Regions from separate parts of the Homo sapiens genome. Here region 2 is linked to region 1. Evidence: promoter capture Hi-C in 16 types of primary human blood cells and fetal thymus (Javierre and others, 2016). All regions are on one chromosome and are shown on one strand. Each heading gives the region's core, a stretch centred on a gene start or on the middle of the fragment in contact. The rest is flanking DNA. Distances are from core to core; before and after follow the strand shown.

Evidence for each region. The method cuts DNA at HindIII sites, captures the fragments that hold promoters and counts their contacts. A CHiCAGO score of 5 or more calls a contact.
Region 2: a contact is called between a fragment that was not itself captured here and the fragment with the promoter of UTP14A in region 1, in 3 of 17 cell types (naive CD8 T cells, activated CD4 T cells and non-activated CD4 T cells). The highest score is 8.0, in naive CD8 T cells.

The regions. Positions count from the first base shown.
Region 1 is chrX:129,904,244-129,909,606 of GRCh38, forward strand. UTP14A (UTP14A small subunit processome component) reads left to right here and starts at 1,921. Exons shown (of 15, transcript NM_006649.4): 1 at 1,921-1,993; 2 at 3,124-3,199; 3 at 3,817-3,887; 4 at 4,427-4,491. The coding sequence starts at 1,968. LOC105373335 (a long non-coding RNA gene) reads right to left here. Exons shown (of 3, transcript NR_188631.1): 3 at 3,021-4,310. The HindIII fragment of the contact is 20,573 bases long and covers 1-2,353 here.
Region 2 is chrX:130,903,700-130,909,218 of GRCh38, forward strand. No RefSeq gene overlaps it. Among named protein-coding and RNA genes, the nearest start is that of ENOX2, 3.2 kb to the left of the region's middle. The HindIII fragment of the contact is 1,296 bases long and covers 2,151-3,446 here.

The DNA.
Region 1 (5,363 bases), core at 671-3,170:
TTTGGGAGGCCGAGGAGGGCGGATCACGAGGTCAGGAGATCGAGACCATCCTGGCTAACACGGTGAAACCCCATCTCTACTAAAAATACAAAAAATTAGCCGGGCATGGTGGCATGTGCCTGTAGTCCAGCTACTCGGGAGGCTGAGGCAGGAGAATCACTTGAAACAGGGAGGCAGAGGTTGCAGTGAGCTGAGATTGTGCCACTGCACTCCAGCCTGGGTGACAGAGCGAGACTCCGTCTCAAAAAAAAAAAAAAAACAAAAATTAGCCAGGCGTGGTGGCGCATGCCTGTAATCCCAGCTACACGGGAGGCTGAGGCAGGAGAATCACTTGAACCCAGGAGGCGGAGGTTACAGTGAGCCAAGATCGCGCCACTGCACTCCAGCCTTGGCAACAAGAGCGAAACTCCGTCTCAAAAAAAAGAAAAGAAAAGAAAAGAAAAGAAAAGAAAAGAAATCAACAGTTACTAAATGCCACACAAAGTTCTGGGAAGCCAAAGACTGAGAGGTATCCGTTTTATTTAGCAACTTTGGGTGTCGCTGATCTTGTCCAGAGCAATTTCTGTGGAATAATGGGGCAAAAGCAAAATGGGAATGGATTACAAGAATGAAAAGAACGGGCCGGGCGCCGTGGCTCACGCCTGTAATCCTAGCACTTTGGGAGGCCGAGACGGGTGGATCATGAGGTCACGAGATCGAGACCATCCTGGCTAACACGGTGAAACCCCGTCTCTACTTAAAAAAAAAAAAAAAATTAGCCGGGTGTGGTGGCAGGCGCCTGTAGTCCCAGCTACTCAGGAAGCTGAGGCAGGTGAATGGTGTGAACCCGGGAGGCGGAGCTTGCAGTGAGCTGAGATCGCACCACTGCATTCCAGCGTGGGCGACGGAGTGAGACTCCGTCTCAAAAAAAAAAAATGAAAAGAATGTTCTTGTCTATTATTTTTCTACAATCATTAATTAATATATATATATATTAGGCCGGGCCCGGTGGCTCACACCTGTAATCTCAGCACTTTGGGAGGCCGAGGCGGGCAGATCACTTGAGGCCAGGAATTCTAGACCAGCCTGGCCAACGTGGCAAAACCCCGTCTCTACTAAAAATGCAAATATTAGCCGAGCATGGTGGCGGGTGCCTGTAATCCTAGCGACTCGGGAGGCTGAGGCAGGAGAATCGCTTGAACCCGGGAGGTGGAGGTTGCAGTGAGCTGAGATCACGCCATTGCACTCCAGCCTGAACGACACAGCAAGGCTCTGTCTCAAAAATAAATAAATAAAATTCTTAAAAGTTGATGGGAGAAAAAAAGTTGTTTAAAAAAATTTTTTTAAGTTGATGGGAGGTGAGGAAGCGTAGTTACTGATGGCCCCTTCTTGGATAAAAAAAATCTTTTGACTCAGGAAATGAAGAACAAAGCTGCAATTACAAGGGATCAAAGGCGATTTTTCCTTAAATGGAAGGAAACTTGTTATGTTCACCATCGGATCTCCGGGGCCCGGCACAATCTGGCCACTTAATAGGCATTCAATAAACCCCCGAGCTGGCTTGTGGTCGGCTTGCAGGACGCCGTCGCACAAGGACGGGCGCTGTAGTCTTTCCTTCTGGATTCTGCAGTGACGAATGAAGGCGCGGGCTCAGCCCCTGAGAGCGCAGCACCGTCGCCCTAAGCTAACCCACCTTGGGCCACGTGGAAACCAGGGGCCAGGAGGACAGACACCCGCGCGCCAGAGAAATACGGGGTGGGTGGAGAAAGGAATGCCCCACCCGCTGACAGCCGTTTCATCTCAGGCCTCCCAGTTTTCTGCAGGCCCCTCCCTACACGGCTCCTGCTTCTCTCACGCCTCGTACGGAACGGAAGTGACGTGTACGTCGCGAGCGATTGACGGAAACAGAAATTGCTTTGCGGCCCGCACGGAAATTGCTTTCCTTCGGCTTCCGTTCTTGGTCCATGTGAGAGAAGCTGGCTGCTGAAATGACTGCGAACCGGCTTGCAGAGAGGTGAAGGGCAACGAGGGGAGGGGGGATTCTGGGTCTCGTTGGGGGCCGGGTTCCCCAGCTTTTGGGAAATGGGAGCCCCCCCTTTAACAGATGGCAGTGGTTCCCCTGAAGAGCTGGCCATTCGTTCCTATTTTCCGCGATCCAGCCTTTAAAGCCCTTTTAATTTAATTTCATTCGCTTACTCCGCTCCTCAGCTGTATAGCCGCATCCCTGTTGGTCCTGATGCTGTTTCTGCCTCCCCAGCTCATTTACTGTGTTTCACATTTTTCGTCACGTGGCCCCTTTTTCTGCCTCTGTCGCGGCCCGATTTAATCCTCTGCGCAGGCAGTGCAGGCGTTATAAACTCCCCGAATCTTGGAAAGCTTTGCTGATTGGAGTCATCCACCACGTTTTGGCTCCTGTGATGTTTTGTGCCCCCCCCACCCCGCCCCCGGAACTAAATGTAGTCCGTTTAGTAATGTTGGCTTTGCAAATACTAATAATATATGCTGTTAGGTAATGGTACATTTTATAATTTGTTTGTGGGTACCAATCTCCTTAGTTAAGCACCTACTTTACTAAGCAAGCCCCAGGGAAAGTGGCTTACCCAGCTGCTTTCGACCTGTTTCTCCATTCCTGGGAACAAGGATCAAGATAACACTTTTGATTAGGCTGCCTATCAATGAGTCAAATATATGGAGGATGCTTAGAAATATTAATCGTGAAACTGCCTTGCCTCCAGGGCTAGCTAGCAACAGCGTCTTTGGCCATATTATTCTAGGGTCTGACATTTTTACAGCTTCCCATAGGTCATAGGAAATGTTGTGCCAATCCCTGAAAAGTGATAGCTCTTTTACATGCAGTTTTGAAGTCAGGCATCACTCTTGGAGGTGATGCCTGACTTCAGTCTAAATTTCACATCTTGACAAGTTTCCAAAGGCATTCACGCTGCTTTATATATCTTCTGAGGGATAGGGCTATTCTGTGCTGAAATTACAATGTTTTCGAGATTGTTTTAATAGATTAGACATTGCTTCAAATAATAATATTTCTTTTTTTAATTTCGACTTTTATTATAATTAAGGGATACATATGCAGGTTTGTTACATGGGTATATTGCATTCACATTTCTCTGTTGCCTCTTTTAACAGCCTTCTGGCTTTGAGCCAACAGGAAGAACTAGCGGATTTGCCAAAAGACTACCTCTTGAGTGAGAGTGAAGATGAGGTGGGTGACAATTGCTAAACTGCCTTCAAAATTAGGGTAGAGAGCACATTCCTGGAATGGAAGGGTGTGACAATGTTCTATGTATTTGTTCAGGTCTCTCAAATAAATTGCAAATGGTTAGTGTTTCATATATAAGATACTGTATCATATTAAGTGCTATGAGGATTTGGAAACTAAGTTACAATCACTACCCTCAAGTTGCATAAGTATAATTTATAAGACCAACCAAAACAGGCCCGGGTGATGGCTCATGCCTGTAATCCCAGCACTTTGGGAGGCCAAGGCGGGCAGATCACAAGGTCAGGAGATTGAGACCATCCTGGCTAACACAGTGAAACCCCGTCTCTACTAAAAATACAAAAAATTAGCCAGGCGTGGTGGCAGGCGCCTGTAGTCCCAGCTACTTGGGAGGCTGAGGCAGGAGAATGGCATGAACCTGGGAGGCGGAGCTTGCAGTGAGCCAAGATAACACCACTGCACTCCATCCTGGGCAACAGAGCGAGACGCCGTCTCAAAAATAAATAAATAAATAACAAGAGATTTTACATGAGACTCAATTTCCATGTTGTCTTTTCCCTCCCCCTCATCCTGATTGTTTTTCCTTTTCTGTGTCTTAGGGGGACAATGATGGAGAGAGAAAGCATCAAAAGCTTCTGGAAGCAATCAGTTCCCTTGATGGAAAGAATAGGTAACGTTCCCGTCAGTTAGGGCAGGTTATATAGTCAATTCCGTGAGATTTCTCTGCAGCTAATATTTATTGAGTGCTTCATGTAAAGACCTTAATACCAGTGCCTAGCATATAGTAAGCATTATATAATTAACTGTTAGCTGTTATTAGTCTTAGTGCTATTATTGTAAGCATTTGCAGTCTTATTCCACACTGAAAATCTTTTAAAGCATTGAGTAGGCATTATTTAACCCCATTAGAGAAATAAATTTACTTACCCCCAAGGTCACCTGGCTCATAAGTTACAGGTTCAGGTGTGTTTGAATCTAAGTCCAATATGTTTTCCACTATGCTTACCTTGTAATAAAGAGAAGAGATGAGGGTTAGACAACCAAGTCCAAGTTAGGAACAGATCTCCTTGCTGCATCATGACAAAACATGACCCTAGAAGAAATACAAGAAACCAAAGCCCTGTTTGAAGAGAGAAGTGTTTGTCTCTCCCAACCCCAAGCCCCCATAAAATTTATTCATTCCTATTATATCGTTTTGCCTAATTTCAGGCGGAAATTGGCTGAGAGGTCTGAGGCTAGTCTGAAGGTGTCAGAGTTCAATGTCAGTTCTGAAGGTAAGTTGAACAAAGGAAGATACCCATGCATGAAACCTGTGGAGTTCCAAGGGCATTGTGTTCACCTCACCCCCCCTAGGAACTGTTTTTGATGTGGTTAATGACTCATACCATAAATACCTGGGAGAGTGGGTGAAGAAGTGTAGTCAGATGCCCTTCAGTTTCTTCCATCTCTCAAAGAAAGCCTAGAAGGCTGTGGTCAAGGTATCCTACAGAGTTTGATGAGATACTTATAGGATAGATGGACATGAATAAAGACAGCTGCCTCTTAGTAACTTAGTCATAATTCATATTTGTACAATTTCATTTTTATTTCAGTTCTCTTAACAATGCTTTGAGTTAGGAGACAGGCAAATATTCTCTTCAGCCAGAGCTCAGAGAGGTCACATTACTTATTCAAGGGCCTTTGCCTAGTACAGTATTTCTCAACCTTTGCTTTTTTATTGCTCCCCTGAGAGGAGCCTTTCAAGCCTTTTTTTTTTTTTTTTTTTTTGAGACAGAGTCTCACTCTATCGCCCAGGCTGGAGTGCAGTGGTGCGATCTTGGCTCACTGCAAACTCCGCCTCCCAGGTTCACGCCATTCTCCTTCCTCAGCCTCCCGAGTATCTGGGACTACAGGTGCCCGCCACCGCGCCTGGCTAGTTTTTTGTATTTTTAGTAGAGACGGGGTTTCACCGTGTTAGCCAGGATGGTCTGGATCTCCTGACCTCGTGATCCACCCGCCGCAGCCTCTCAAAGTGCTGGGATTACAGGCGTGAGCCACCGTGCGCGGCCTCAAGACATTTTTTTCCTCATTGTATCCCTCCCCCTGTGCCCCTTCCCCAGGAAATCAAGTCCTAAGGAATAAGAGTTTGTTGGACAGAGTTGAGCCT
Region 2 (5,519 bases), core at 1,549-4,048, 1.0 Mb after region 1:
GCTTAGAATTTTAATTGAGAGTTATAGTCCTTTAAAATTGTTAAAGTGTGTTCCTTGTGAACCACCTGCATTAAAATCACTTGAAAGGTATGGAAGAATGTATATATTTTTTTCTAATTGGAAATTATAGTTCCCCCTGGAAACAGTGTCATAAATAGGCATAGAAATGTGATCTACACCAGCCCAGAAGAAGCCTATTTAATCCATAATGAAGCTATGTTGTTGCCATGAAAAACAGTGGCCACATAAACTGCTATAAATAACAATTTAGAACAGATAGACAATACAACTTAAGTACAAACGAGTAACTATATGTGTCTTTAAGAAACTTAACCTTTTGAGTAAAAATATGTTACAAGAGCTGGATAAAGACATAGGTGGGGAATGCCAAGCACTTCCAAGTGACTTAAAGGTTGAGGAAAATGGTTGTTTATTAGGGCTAATTTCACTCCCAACTTTTGACCTTTTTTTTTCTCTGTTAGAGATGAATCCTTGTAGCCTTGTTACAGTTGAATTACTACAACTTCTTGATGAGGACAACTTTTCGACTCACGAGTAAAATGAAGGGAAAGACAGGGGAATTGCATTTTGCTGAGGTAATTGCCCAATATTTTAAAAAGATAAGTGAAGGAGGAAGACGATTTAATAAATTCAACCATTTATTCAGCATAGTGCTTTGTGCAAAGCTCTGGGCTAGGCACTGTTGCCACAGAATTGGAAAAATAGTCCCTACCCTCAAGTAGCTCAAAATCCAGGTGAGGGGAGTTGTAGTAGAGGAGAATCTGGGGGGAGGAATAGATGAGTATACAATGTGCAAAATGCTGTAAAGAAGTCTACATAGGGTTCTATAGGAACATAGAGGAGGAAGAACTTGTTCTACTTCTGGAGAACTGGTTGAAGAACCAGTAAAATATTTGTCAGATTTGGGGCAGGGAGGTCAACCATATTCTATACAAAGCATATGCAAAGGCATAAAGGCATGAAAGAGTGCAGAGAACAATAGCAAAAGTTCCATATTGCAGAGACTAGATCAGGCAGCAACAAGGGGTCATATCAATTAGTTCATAATTTAACTTGAAAGTGGGAGAGAACCATCAGAGGAATTTTTGTGCTTATATAGTGTTTATTTTTTAAAGCATATACACATAGAACATACTGGGAACACATAGCTAGGGTATTATGGGGAATCATTCTGGAGGGTGGTAATTGAATTGCTATATTATGTTTTAATACTTTTTATACTTTTAAATTCCTCCAGGAAAATAATTTGCTTTTTTAAAAAAAGAAAAATCGGCTGGGTGCCGGGGCTCATGCCTGTAACCCTAGCACTTTGGGACACCAAGTTGGGAGGATTGCTTGAGCCCAGGAGTTCGAGACCAGCTTGGGCAACATAATGAGACCTTGTCTCTACAAAAAATCAAGAAAATTAGCCAGGCATAGTGGCGCATGCCTGTAGTCCCAGCTACTCAGGAAGCTGAAGCAGGAGGATCCCTTGAGCTTGGAAAGTTAGGGCTGCAGTCAGCCGATATTGTACCACTACACTCGAGTGTAGTGGGTGATAGAGCAAGACTCTGTCTCAAAAAAAATTAAAAAATTAAAAAAAGAAAGAAAAAAGAGAAAAAGAAAAATCACCTCATTTCAGCCATAAAAAGGAGTGAAACAAGGCATTTTCAGTATTATGGCCACCAGAAAAACATTGTGTGAATCAAATGCAGAATTTCTTTTCTCAGCTTTGTCTCCTTTCTTTTTATCTTTTTTTCCATGACTCTTTACTTTGATTTGATCATTGATTTCAAAGTATTTGCAGAGCACCTACTATGTTCCATACACTATGACAGGTTTTGGGTTTTAATGGTGAGTTAAAACATGGGTTCCTGTTCATCAAAGTATTTCTAGCAGGAAATGGAATAATCAGATGGAGTTGGTAGATGTGGAAAGTGAGAGACGGGGAGGAGTCCATTACGACTCCCAAGTTCTGACTTGGAAGACTAAGTGTATGGTAGTACCATTCACTGAGATATTGAACCTAGAAAGAATAGCAAGTTTTGTGAAGAATAGGAGGAAATCAGTTTTGAACATTTAAAATTTGAAGAGTCTGTGGAACTTTTGGTTGGAGATGCCTGATAGGCTGCTGAGAAATGCCGGTCGGAAGCTTGGGAGAGAGGTCTTGCTTGGAACTAAACATTTGGGAGACATTAGTATAATATAGAGGGCAATTAAATAAGTGAAAAATTGTTTAAACTTTACTTAGAGAGTATTTTTTTTTTTGAGACGGTTTCTTACCCTGTTGCCTAGGCTGGAGTGCAGTGGCACAATCTCGGCTCACTGCAACCTCTGCCTCCTGGGTTCAAGTGATTCTCCTGCCTCAGCCTCCCGAGTAGCTGGGATTACAGGTGCCTGCCACCACAGCTGGCTATTTTTTTTTTTATTTTTAGTAGAGATGGGGCTTCACTGTGTTGCCCAGGCTGGTCTCGAACTCCTGACGTCAAGTGATCCACCCGCCTCAGCCTCCCAAAGTGCTGGGATTACAGGCGTGAGCCACTGTGCCCAGCCAATTTAGAGAGTATTTAGAATAATAGTTTTTAAAAAGACAAAGATTATGGAATCCTGGAAAATAATGATATTCAAGTAGCAAGTAGAAGAAGAGATGCCTTCCAAGGAAGCTGAGAGGGAATGCCCAAACAGATGAACCAAGAGAAAACAAAGTAGAATTACTGGCATATATTACAGAGAGGTCAAGTAGCAGGACAGAATAGTAAGAAGAAATTACTCCTTCATCAATATAACAAGTTTTTATTGAGTACCTATAATGTGCCAGACATTATTCTAGATGCTGGGAATAGAGAAGTGGAAAACACATACAACATCCCTTCCCTTTGGAGGCTATATTCTGTTAGGAAGAAGCCATCAACAAACAAGATAAATAATTAAAATACATAGCTGTGATAAGTAATATTTCTTACTGTGTATGTCACAGCTGTGTATGGCTATTTCTGTATGGTGATATAAATACACACACACACACATATATATATCTCCAATAAGCCATATGGAAATTTTATATATAATATATAAAACATATCTATATCTCCAATAAGCCATACAGAAATTTTATATATAATATATATTATATATAAGCACAAATGTATACATATATTTGTATGTGTATATACAAACGTGATACTCTTTGGTCTGTTGTTATATAATAAGATGAATTTGTGAAATACTGGCCCAGGGTCAAACAGTCTGGCTGGATTCAGAGAACAATTAGGAAGTCAAGGTTAGAGCTGTATCCAGAGCCAGTGTAGAGCCCAGGTCAAGGCCAGGGTTCATGTGTATAATGTGGAATGTATTTAGCTTCAATCTTTTCTCAGGTTAAGATTTAGTAAGTCTGTAGCTGTTTTTACAGGCCATTGTGGATTCAGGATCAGAAGACCATCAAACCAAGCTTAGGGTTAAGCCTGATAGCAATATTAGGCCCCAGATTTAGAGCCATGGTTCAGTCTGTGTCACAGATTAAAGTGCATTTCTGACCACTCTGGACTAACAGCAGCCTCAGGGTGTTAAAGCTCACTCTGAGGCTGCTGTAAGTCTAGAGTGGCCTGGTTTATGAAGTCAAGGTGCAAGATTTGGGTTCAAATTTTGGCCAGAATTAGGATTTAGTCTGTGTGTAGGAAGAGGCCTCATTCTAAAATTAGAGTTAGGGCTCAGTCTGTGGACCAGACTTAGACCACACCCAAGGTTAGGGCTCAGCTCAATGTTTGACTTTAGTTTTTGATCAATGTTGGAATCACTTTCATTTCTAGACTTGAAAGTCAATAAAGGCCAGGACCATGGCTCTGCCTGGGATTAGTCTTCATGCTGATGATGTTGCCTAGGAAAAAATGAAGTAAGAATATGAACAGGATTTATGTTCAGTCTTTCTTCAGGTTAAGTTTCAATTCGTATTCATGGTTAGAGTTTATTCTGGGTCCAATAATTAAGTCTCAGTCCGTGGCCAATGGTAAGGCACAGTCAATGTCTAATATTCAGTCTGTTGCCATGTTAGGACATTACCTGTCATGTGCCCTAGAGCCTTGTCTCAAACCAGAGTTAGCATTTCATATATGGACAAAATTATGATACAGTTTGTGGCCAGGATTTCAATGATGAATATGAACAGGATTTGGGATGCATATTTGGCTAGAGTAAGTTCAAGGTGTGGTTTCTGACTTTAGCCAGTGTCAGGATTCTGTCTTTGTCCATAGCTCATATCAACAATGTTCTATGGAGCTAACTCACAGTGGCCTGTGTTGGCCCTCATTCTGTGGCCAGAGCAGGGCTCAGTCGGTGACCTGTATTAGCCATTTCAATTTGACCACTATCAGAGTTGAGTCTGGAGGGAGTAATTCCACTATGACTTTATGTAGCATTTGTGTTCACTGAGTATTGGTGGTAGTGCTATCTGATTAAACTTGTACCAGAGTTTGGGAGTTACCAATAACCAAGGTAAGGCTTACTATGAAGAAGGTTTTAAGGCTAAGAGTGTAAACAGGTTTTTTGGATTAGCTGTTGATGTTATTTGTCAGTCAGTGGATAGAGTTGAGATGAGAACAAACAACACATAAAATCCAGATTGAAAGCTTTAGAGGCTCAGGCTGTAATCAGGGTTTTGGGATCAGGATGTTGCCAGGGTTTGAGTTCAGAGTGTTCATTGCCTGTTGTCAGTCTGGCACTTAGACTCTGGCTTAGTGTAGCAGGCATTTCGGTATCAGTAGTAGAGTTCAGTCTTTGCTAATTGTTAGTGACCATAATGTGCCCAGTGCCATGGGTACATCTATTCACAATTGAGGACTAAGTTTGTGACCAGACTGATTGCTCAACCTCCAGCTAGTGCTAGGACTCAGTTTGTGGCCACTAATACAGTGAACTTTGTTTATGGGTTTAAGACTTGATATGTGACAAAGGTGAGTACTTAGTCTCAGCCTGTTGTTAGATCTGATAATATGAGCAGGATTTTGATTTAGTCTTGTAGGGTCAGGAATCATTTCTCTAACCAGGCTTAGGGCTTGGCCTTTAGGTCTCAGACTGTGGTGGGACTTACAGTCTTCATCCCAGCTCAGTATTCAGAATGTGGCCAGGAAGAGGGCTCAGATCTTAGCCATGGTGAGTTCCGTCTGTGCTCAGGGTTAGAATTAAATCTGTTGCAGGGTTTTAGGCCAAGAAAATGAAAAGTATTTGTTTTGTCTTTGTCTAGTTTGTCCTTCATTCATCTTCAAGGTTTGGGTTCAGTCTCTGCCCAGTGCTGGTGAGCAGCTTAATTTCTGGTATTAGGAATCAGTCGGTAGCCAGGGTTAAAGTTAAAGTTGTGGTTGAAATTGGGATCCAGTCTCGGGTGAACATTTAGCCAGAGATAGGGTTCAGTCTATCTCAAAAATTCAGGATCAGTCATTAGCCATTTGGAGAAATCAGATTTATTTTCAGGTTGAAAGCTCATGTCAGAGGTTAGGCTTATGGGCTCAGTCTGTGATGAGAGTTAG